2 separate regions of the Homo sapiens genome follow, and region 2 is linked to region 1. Evidence: promoter capture Hi-C in 16 types of primary human blood cells and fetal thymus (Javierre and others, 2016). All regions are on one chromosome and are shown on one strand. The core of a region is centred on a gene start or on the middle of the fragment in contact, and the rest is flanking DNA. Distances in the headings are between cores, read along the strand shown. Region 1 holds the start of SERPINB1 (serpin family B member 1). Region 2 has its middle 14 kb from the start of PSMG4.

Evidence for each region. The method cuts DNA at HindIII sites, captures the fragments that hold promoters and counts their contacts. A CHiCAGO score of 5 or more calls a contact.
Region 2: a contact is called between a fragment that was not itself captured here and the fragment with the promoter of SERPINB1 in region 1, in 1 of 17 cell types (activated CD4 T cells). The highest score is 5.6, in activated CD4 T cells.

Annotation. Positions count from the first base shown.
Region 1 is chr6:2,838,711-2,844,319 of GRCh38, forward strand. It overlaps SERPINB1 (serpin family B member 1), which reads right to left and starts at 3,153. Exons shown (of 7, transcript NM_030666.4): 1 at 3,102-3,153; 2 at 1,709-1,884. The coding sequence starts at 1,876. RefSeq lists a silencer at 3,048-3,097. The HindIII fragment of the contact is 1,424 bases long and covers 1,958-3,381 here.
Region 2 is chr6:3,242,459-3,247,330 of GRCh38, forward strand. No RefSeq gene overlaps it. Among named protein-coding and RNA genes, the nearest start is that of PSMG4, 14 kb to the right of the region's middle. RefSeq lists an enhancer at 4,637-4,872. The HindIII fragment of the contact is 4,996 bases long and covers 654-4,872 here.

The sequences.
Region 1 (5,609 bases), core at 1,903-4,402:
TACAACCATTTATTTTGAAACTATAAAGTGATTCCTTGGTGTTTCCTTCTATCACATTAAATTAATGTGTTTTTATTACTAATTATTGATGATCCCAAACCCAATACTTTATTAATTTGTCATTGCAGAACAAACAATAGGAAATCCAAAATTTATGGCTTCGTGAGACAGAATGTTTACAACTTTACACATTGCTTTTACATCACTCTTTGTTACACTTGCAGTTCCACAAATGTGGGTGGTTAAGATACTAAATATTTATATATAAGTCTGCCTTTTCCAAAGAAAATAATAAATGGTATGTTCATATTTATATTCTGTATCAAATATAATTTTACTGAAAGTTCTCAGAAATAAGCAGTAAAAATAGGATTCATCCTCTATTCAGAACCACAAAGATAGTACAGACTGAAGCTTTTAAAATTTTATTACCCTATTAACATCAGTAACTCACTTATTTTAAAATAACTTCCTTAAACTTAACATTCTGGCAAAAGTTTAATTCCCCATGTATCAGTTACAAATCAAGAGGCCCTTTGTGGTTTTATGAGACCTAGGCTGGTTCCTTTATGATTAAGACACAAAGAACAAAATTGCATAGGGTACGAAGTCCACATTACTCACCGAGATATGGAATGTTTGCACTGTGCCTATGCTCCATCTGCTTTAATGGAAATGGGGGAGGAGTCCTTAAAACTATTCTTTGCTGAGGTTTTAAAGTCCCTGGAAAACCTCAAGCTAGGAACTGATATAACCCTGCAAGAAGCAACTAACAATTAGTAACAGAGGTTTTTTTTTTTTAATGGATTTAAAAAAAACATTTAAAATGCTTTCATATCTAAAGTGATGAGTAATAGAAGTTTCGCAGCCCCTTGAACTTGAATCCCAGGCTGCACCTTGCCAAGGAACAGGTGCAGTGTAATTTGCGGCAGGTATGTTAGAAGAGCCTCCACTTTTACCACTCCTTTCTGCTGAGCTTAGAGAGAGAGAGCTAGAGTTCTCTTCTCAGAATTAAAGAGTACCAAGCACAGAAGTCCTCTCCATGTCCATTATGGACAAGAAGGAAGGCTGGGCATGAGAGTGACCTGTCACATCGCCAAGGGCTGGGTCCCGCCCCTGAAGCTGCGGGTCTCCCCCTCACCTCCCCTGCAGGGCGTGCTATGCCACAGCCCACTGAGCCATGCGCAGCACCCTGGGACTACAGAACCACAGGGTCACTTTTTCTCTTTTCCTTGCAAAAAAGCAATGCCACTATCTCCACTATAATGCATTCCCTATGTCTTATTCCTCTCATTATGCTTGAAAGTAGTGTTATATAACAGGCAATATTTATGAGTTGCATATCATCATATGCAAAGCAAAAACTGGAAGATGCTAGCTCAGGAGGATGTAGTATGCCTTTCAGGAAAGCTGTCAGATTCATCCACTGGAACAGAAGCCTCGCCCTGCAGGGATTTTTGTCAGCTTTGCTCACTGCTGTCTCCTCAGCAATACGAAAAACAGTTCCTGGTACGTGGTAGGTACTTAGGAAAAACCTGATGATGAATGGAAGCCTGCATACAAGTGTGACTTTTCTGAAAGTCTGATCTCATAAAAATACAGTTCTGAAAACACAAGGTAAGAGCTCAAAGGCACAACCTTTCCATGCAGACTGTCCATTCGTAGGGAGATGGGAGGAAAGCAGACCCTTTTTTTTGTTTCTGCTGACCTTGGACAGCTGTGCTGCCGTGTTACCTCTGGTCCCCAGAAAAACCATGGCCATAGCAGATGAAATGCTGAAGGGAGAGATGAAGATGTTTCCAGCCGGATTGTTCTCACTCAACGCCAGGAACAGGTCCAAGGCGAAGCGGGTGTTTGCTGAGCTCAGCTGCTCCATGGTGAAAACTGCAACACAGAACAGGGTCCTCATGGTGCCCACTGCCCACGCCAGCAGATTAGGCAGCACTATTTCTCCAGAAGCTTCCTCAATTTCTGCCAACCGCCCTGAGGCATCCTGGATCTTGTACTTTCTCCCCGCTTTTTTATTCCAGCAGGGCAAGAACACTTTCCCAGGCCCACAAATGTGGGACCATTCTGGCCAAGGACTCAGCAGTTATAGGGGATTTTAGGGCACCCAGGGTGCCCTAAAGGGCTCTGACCTTGCAGACAGGTGAGTCTGGGGGTGGGGCGGGGGTAAGGCAGGCCCCAGCTACCCCAGCTTTAGTGGGGTGGGAGGGCCCACCCAGCCCTGGGTCTTCCCAACCTATGTGTGGGAGCGCACGTGCTTCTGAGCCTTTGATTCAAGTCTCTGATTCATTGGGCAATGAATCCATTGCCTACCTTCACCTGAACTAAGAGCCTTCTATCAGAGACTCAGCTACCTACTATGCATTAAAACTCCAGCAAAGGTATCACTGTAATTATTATAATAATATAATTCTTCCTTATTTTTGAGGTTCAAAAGGTATGAGGTCCAGTGCCCACAGTCTCAGAGCCGGTGTAGGATGTGCCAGTTTGGAAACCCACCACAGTCCAGGGTCTGGCCGTGCAGCGTCCCATCCGCCACCCACTAGCCCATCTCGATCTCCACTCTCAGAGCCCTGATTTCCCCCGAGGACAGGCAAAGAAGAACCGTGCTGGCTGCTCGGCATGTAAGCACAAAGCTGATTTCTCCTTGTTGTGAAATCGTCTCTAGAATCGCACGGGGTTCCTCCTCTCTCTCCCTGCAGCTGCAGATAGGAGCCGCGGCCTGGCCCTGGGCTGCCTGGAAACCGTCACAAACAGCTCTGGGAGGAAGGGAATTCAGGGAGAAGGGACAACATTCTGATCTCAGGTTTCAGTCTTGCCTTCCGCCTGCATCTGTCGTCCTCCCTCCCTCCCTCCCTCGCGGGCTGGCCCGGCCTGTACCCAGGCGGGGGCGGGGGATCAGAGGTCGTCTGTCTCCGTCGGGGCGCCCGGAAGGGATGGGGGCGCGAAGCTGGCGGGGAGGGCGAGCGCAGGGAGCTGCGGGTCTGAGGGGCCTGAGCCTGGGGGGTGGGGGGTGCCGGGCTGGAAGCTGAGCGAGGGAGCCTGGCCTCTCCCCGCGCCCGCCCCCGCGCCACCGCTCCGAGGCCCGGCCTTACCCGACAGGCCGCCGAGGCACGCTCCGGGCTCCGAGCTGGGTGCGAGGTCAGGAAGGAGGCACCGAGGGCCGCTGCTCTTATAGCAGGCGGAAGCGTCACCCGGGCCAGCAGCCGCGGGCGGGGCGGCGGCCCTTCCCGGTGACTGCGTAGGAGTCCGAGCTCCCGAGGTCGCCTAAGTGCAAGCAGAAGTGAGCGTGGCTTCCGGGCAGCGCCCTCCTCAGGGGCGCGGCTTCTTTCTCAGTTCAAAGCCTTTCCCCGAATCTCTGGCAAGGACCTGAAAAGCTTTTTCTTACTAAGGTGTGAATGACTGAGACGACATATTGTGACACCTCTTAGAGGGCAAATGACTCCCTTTGAGTCCCATCTATATTGGGAGCTTTCTTTGAGAGAAGGAAGCAAATTTGGGGATCTTGCACAGGGAAAAAGAGGGGCCCCCAGAATCAGATGAAACAGAACCAGTTCCAAACACCTGCTCTCTGTTTCCAAGATGACAGCTTGCTGCTGCGTCCTCAATGGTGGAAAGTGGAAGGGCAAAAGGGGCCAAATCTCATGTGAAGTCTCTCGTATAAGGGGCCAATCCCATTCATGAGGAAGGTGCCCTCATAATCCAGTCACCTCCTAAAGGCACCACCTGTTAGTATTGCATTGAGGATTGTTTCAGCATGAATTTTGCAGGGAACACAGACATTCAAAGCATAGCATTCTGCCCCTGCCCTCCAAATTCATACCCCTCTCACATGCAAAATGCATGCATTGTATCCCAGTGGCCTCCAAAGTTCCAGTATCAACTTTAAAATGTAAGTCCAAAGTCTCACCTAAATATCTTCTAAATTAGAAAGGCATAAGATTCAAAGTACAATTCATCCTAAGTGAAATTCCCCTCCAGCTATGAGCCCGTGAAATCAAATAGGTTACAGGCCTTCAAAATACAGTGATGAGACAGGCATAGGACGTACATTCCCATTCCCAAAGGGAGAAGCAGGCAAGAAGAAAGGAGTATCTGGTCCCAAGTAAGTCCAAACCCAACAAGGCAAACAGCATTAAATCTTGGGGCTTCAGAATAATCTTCTTTGATGCTGTGTCCCCCATTCCGAGCACAGGGGGGTGGAGACTGGGTCCCCTAGTGTCCAGGGGATCCACTCCCATGGATTTGCCAGGTGCAACCCATGCAGCAGCTCTCACAGGTTGAGGTCTAGGCTCTCCCAGGATAGACTTGCATGCTGGTGGCTGGACAGTTCTGGGTTCTCAGGGACAGCCCTGTTCCCACAGCTCCACTAGATATTACTCTATTTGGGGCTCTCTGCAGTGGCCCCAATCCCACTGCTCCACTAAACATTGCCCTAGTGAGGGTTTTCTGCAGCAGCCTCACCTCAGTGACAATTCTCAGACTGGGCCCCCAGGGTCCCCAACACATCCTTCAAAATCTAGGTGGAGGTGGCTGTGTCTCCACAGTTCATGCACTCTGTGCACCTGCAGAGTTAGCATCACGTGGACTCTGCCAAGGCTTACAGGAAGGGTGGCCTGACAAGGGCCTGCATAAGCCACACGTGGGATGGTGGCCAAAGAGTGCTGCACCAGAATGTGGGGGGTGGGGGGGCAGAGACTTGAGGCAGCCCTAGGCAGCAAGCCCCAAGGTTCCATGGTGTCCTGAGTCCTCCCTTAAAACTATTCTGCCCTCAGGGTCCTGGCACTCTGGGACAGGGATGAGAATCCAGAACCAGTAACCTCAGAAATGCCTTTGGGTTCATTCTTCCATTGTCTTGATAAATAGCATCTGGCTTCCTTCTACACATACTCATCTCATTATCAAATGTGAACCTGGCAGCACTCTTGGTGTTCCCTCCCAAACATGCCTTTTCATTCTTTACATGGCCAGGCTGAGAATTTTCCAAAACTTTAAGCTCTGCTTCCCTCTTGATTATAAACTTCGTTTTTAATTCATTCTCTCTGCTCACATTTTACTACAAGCAGTCAAGAGAAGCCATGCTGCACTCTCAACGCTTTGCTCAGAGATTTCTTCCATCAAATATCCTAGTTTATTGCCTTTAAGTTCTGCCATTCAGAAAACACTAGGACATAGACACAATTCAGCCAAGTTCATTGCCACTGTGTAACAAGGATGACCTTTCCTCCAGTTTCCTTTTAAGATCTCATCAAAAGTGTCTTTACCATCTATACTTCTAACCGCATTCTGATCAAGACCAGACCACTTAATTAATCTCTAAGATGATTTAGGCTCTCCCTACAGCTCTCCTTGTCTTCTGAGCCCTCACCCTTAATTTCCCTTAAAGCTCTGTTTATGTCTATACAGGCTTTTTCCAGCATGCATCTCCAAATTCTTCCAGCCTCTACCCATTACTCAGTTTCAAAGCTGTTTCCACATATTTAGGTATTAGTTATAGCAACATCCCATTCTCAGTATCAATTTCTGTCATAGTCCATTTGTGCTGCTATAAATACCTGTGATTGGGCAATTTATTAAAAACAGAAATGTATTGCTCACAGTTC
Region 2 (4,872 bases), core at 1,902-4,401, 400 kb after region 1:
TCCTGAACTCAGATGATCCACCTGCCTCAGCCTCCCAAAGTACTGGGATTGCAGGTGTGAGCCTCCGCGCCTGACCCTTTCTCCTTCTTATGTGTATGAGATGTTTGCATTGTCCCTCCTTTTGAAAAATTGTCACCTTAAACTATATTGCCATAATAAGTGAATGTAAAATTCAATACTATCACCCCTCTATGTTTCTACATATAATTCAACTCAATTCTTTGTTAATAACTGATGATGATTTCTACTTTTTCCAGTGATTTCCACCTACCATGCCTTTCTGCTGTTCCTCATCTGTGTATACTTCTTTCCATGAACCCATCCAGCACTTCCCTATGATACTCTCAGCAGGCCAGTCTGATCACGTCCTGAGTCCTTTCCCATCCACAAAAGGTGTTTTTGTGCTGTAAGACAGAGGGAGCGCTGAGGCCTGGAGGCTTGCCGGGGCTTTGACTCTGGGATGAAAGGATGTTGTCCTTTCCACATCACTCACTAATTCTTTTCTCACTCTGCTTTGCCCTCCTGGGACTCAGGTGCCATTTATTCTTGAATTGTCCCTTGTTTGGTGTCAGAGAGTTTCCACTCTCTGGAGTACTGCCCATGGTGCGATTCCAGAAGGGAAGAGGCTTGCATTTCTTCTGTGCAATAGGGGAAGCTTGAGCTTGAAAGGGCAGTTGATAAAGAAAGACAAGCTCTCAGAACCAGAACACTCGCCAGTAGAGCATGTCTGTATAGGAAAGACTATAGGTGTCAATTTTAGATCTGGAAACCAATCCTTGACAGCTATTCATGACTCTGCACCCCTCCAACGTCTTCATGTCCCCAGTCTACTAGCTTCACTTTGAAGCCCACTGTTATAGCCCAGTCGCCCAATGAGGGAGAGGAAATCTCTGTGAGTCCCAAATGCTAAGTCCTGGAAAAGGGATTCTGTTGGCTCCAGTCTCTGGGTTGGAAACTTAGAATCTTCAGTCTCCTGGATGAGCACTTTGAGGAGCCCACTGTGGCAAACGTGGGGTGGCAGAAGGGGTCTCTTCTAGAAAAGTGTTCGTGGCAGGGCACAGACAAAGTTGGAGTGTGGTAGGTTGGGAGGCTGGGGGTCGGGAGCCCTCCAACTACTATAGGGAATTTTCATTTCCAGCTGTGAGAAGACAGTTTACCCTAGCATAAAGCCAGATTGTAGATCATTTAACTTTAACGGCGATTAGAGTTTGTTTGTTTGCTTTTTGAGATAGGGTCTCCCACTGTTGCCCACAGTGACGCCATCTCAGCTCACTGCAGCCTCAACCTGCTGGCCTCAAGTGATCCTCCCACCTCAGCCTTCTGAACAGCTGGGACTACAGGTGCATGCCATGATGCCTGGCCAATTGTTTTTTATTATTATTTTTCGTAGAGACAGGGTCTCACTATGTTGCCCAGGCTGGTCTTGAACTCCTGAGCTCAGGTGGTCCTCCTGCCTCAGCCTCCCAAAGGGCTAGGATTACAGGCATGAGCCACCACACCCCAACCTACCTATTAGAATGGAAAGATTCTGCCAGGATTTTATGAGTCTGTTTTCTCTGCTCTCAGCTCTGTCTCAGCCATGAAGTCTGGAAAGATAAAGGAGGAATCAGTGAAGGTGCCATCTCTCCTCTCAGGTTCCCTTCCACTCTGCTCCAAGAATTTCCATGATGAAGAGAGCTGGCTGGAGGGCAGGATTCAGGTGGTGACTTACTCATTCTTCAGCCTCAGATAGGCTTTGCTCCAAGCGCAGGGCAGCACCTGGGAGGCTGTGGGAGCTCTTTCAGTCAGCAAGTAGGCAAGTACATTGTATTATATGCAGAGGTGTTTTGTTTATGGGTGTTGTGCTATTGTTGTTGTTGGACTAAATACAAGGTCCTATAAAAGGCCCAGAGGGAAGGGGTAAGCTGGGCAGGGTATAACAGAAGCAGTGGGTGACATCATCAGGCATGCTGCCACATTCTCTCTAACCTGGAGAGAACCTTAAATACACACTTCCGAGACGAACCCAGATTGCACAAACAAAACAGAAGAGCCAAGTGGGAAGAGCATAGCATTTGGAATCAAATGGCACACTAAAAAAAAAGGCGGAAACAAGGAATATTAATACCTCCCGATATGGTTACTGTCAACACCTAAAGCTCATAAATGCAGTTCCTGACACAGGGTAGGTGCCCAGTGATTGGAACAGTTATCATCAGTGTTATATTACACAATGGGTGTCAGTCTCAGTCCATTTAGGTTGCTATAACAAAGTATCTTAGACTGGGGAATTTATAAACAACAGAAATTTATTGCTGATAGTTCTGGAGGCTGAGAAGGCGCCCGCAGATTCCATGTCTGGTGAGGGCTCTTTGCTTCGTGGCACCTTGTTGTTGTGCCCTTATGTGGCTGAAGGAGAAAGCAGCTCTCTGGCGCCTTTTAATTTTTTTTTTTTTTTTTGGAGATGGAGTCTTGCTCTGTCACCTAGGCTGGAGTGCAATGACGCAATCTCGGCTCACTGAAACCTCGGCTCACTGCAACCTCCACCTCCTGGGTTCCAGAGATTCTCCTGCCTCAGCCTCCCAAGCAGCTGGGACTATAGGTGTGTGCTACCATGCCCAGCTAATTTTTGTATTTTTGGTAGAGACGGGGATTCACCATGTTGTCCAGGCTCGTCTCGAACTCCTGACCTCAGGTGATCTACCTGTCTCAGCCTCCCAAAGTGCTGGGATTATAGGCGTGAGCTATTGCACCCAGCCTGGGGCCTTTTTAATAACAGCACTAACTTCCCAAAGGCCCTATCTCTTTATCCCATCACCTTGGGGGTTGGAGGGAAAAGTCTAGGAGTCAGGACTGAGAAGACGGATCTGCACTTCAATGCCATCGCCATGGAAGAAAGCACTAGGAGCTACGTGGAATGAGTGGGAAAAGCGCAGACTTTATGCCAGGAATCCTGGTTTCACTCTCAACCCACTGCATGGACCCGGGGGCAAGTTACACAACTGGTCTGATGTTTGGCCTCCTCAGCCTGACTTTGAAATAATATCTTCCTCATGGGGTTACTGTGAGGGATAGAAATGGTTTAAAGAAGGACCTAGGATAGTACTAGGCATAGAGGAGGCAATGGCTAAGTCATGGTTCCTACCATGCTGAGAAGCTGGGGATGGTGGGTTCTTAGCAACAGCTTCAAGAGAGGAGTGTTCAGAAATTGGGCTACTTACCCAACAGGGCTCTTGGAAATGAAATTGATTCATAAGACTGAAAAATTATAAAATAAGATATTTGTAGAGTCGGTAACAATCTGTGAATTATTTTGGGTTATTGGAGGAGGACCTGTTATGGTTTGGGCAGCAAAGTATACAGAATCTCATTAGGGTGATGGGACTTCTTGGTTAAAAATATACCTAAGATGACAGACCTTCCAGGCCAGGGTTGCTTTTTATTTATTTATTTTTTATGTTTTTATTTATTTTTTTGAGACGGAGTCTTGCTCTGTCACCCAGGCTGGAGTGCAGTGGTGTGATCTTGGCTCACTGCAACTTCCGCCTCCCGGGTTCAAGCGATTCTCCTGCTTCAGCCTTCCAAGTAGCTGGGATTACAGGCATCCGCCACCATGCCCAGCTAAATTTTGTATTTTTAGTAGGGACAGGGTTTCACCATGTTGGCCAGGCTGGTCTCGAACTCCTGGCCTCAAGTGATCCGCCTGCCCCTGGCTCCCAAAGTGCTGGGATTACAGGCCTGAGTCACTGCGCCCAGCCCCAACTTTTTAAATTTTAAAATTTTCATTGTGATAAAAACCACATAGCATAAAATTTGCCACGTTAACCATTTCTAAGTGCACAGTTCAGTGGCATGAAGCATGGGGGTGCAACTGTCACCACCGTCCATTCCAGAACTTTTCATCTCCCCAAACTAAAACTCTGTCCCCATTAAACACCAATTTGCTGTTCCCGCAGCCCTTGGCCACTCCCATTCTACTTTCTGTTTTTTTATGTGAATTTAATTACTCTAGCCACCGCCTATGAGTGGACTCATACAGTATTTGTCCTTTTTTGTCTCTCACTTAGCAAATGTCCTCAAGGTTCATCCATGCTGTGACCTGTGTGAGAATTCCCTCTCTTTATAAGATAAGATTGCCTTTGTAAGTGGGTGCCCCAGGCGTTCAGCTGAGGGTTTTTCCATAGGATCTGGTCAACTGGGAGCATTTTGCTGAATTTAGTTCTGCTTTTTCCTGTACCCCCGATGCCTTCCTTACCTTGGCATCGCTGTCCTGATTCCTGTACCAGCTTCCTAACCTGCTCCATCCTGTGCTCTCCCGCCTTTGTGCTCAGTCTTGCCCCCATCTTCTAATCACCTTGCAGTTCCCAGAGCTGCTTGTGTCTCTTACCTGTTCATCTGGGCCCGGCGTGGTGGCTCACGCCTGTAATCCCAGCACTTTGGGAGGCCAAGGCTGGTGGCTGGCTTGAGCTCAGGAGTTGGGGATCAGCCTGGGAACACAGTGAGACTTTGTCTCTACAAAAAATAAACAAAATTAGCCAGGTGTGGTGGCATGTACTTGTAGTCGCAGCCACTTGGGAGGCTGAGGTGGGAGGATTACTTGAGCCCAGGAGGTCAAGGCTGTAGTGAGCTATGATCACACCACTGCACTCTAGCCTGGACAACAGAGTGAGACCCTGTCTCAATTTGGAAAAAAAAAAGGTGCACTGACCACGGGTGTCCAGCATTCCAGAAGCCCACTTGGTGTTCTCCTCATCTCCTACCCCAACAAGCAGCTACTGCCTTGCCCTCCAGCAGTAGGTGTTAGCTCTGCAGGCTTCAGGAGTTGATAGAAATGGAATCCGACAGTATGTACTCCGTGTACATTCTTTTTGTGAGACTCACCCGTGTTCTCGC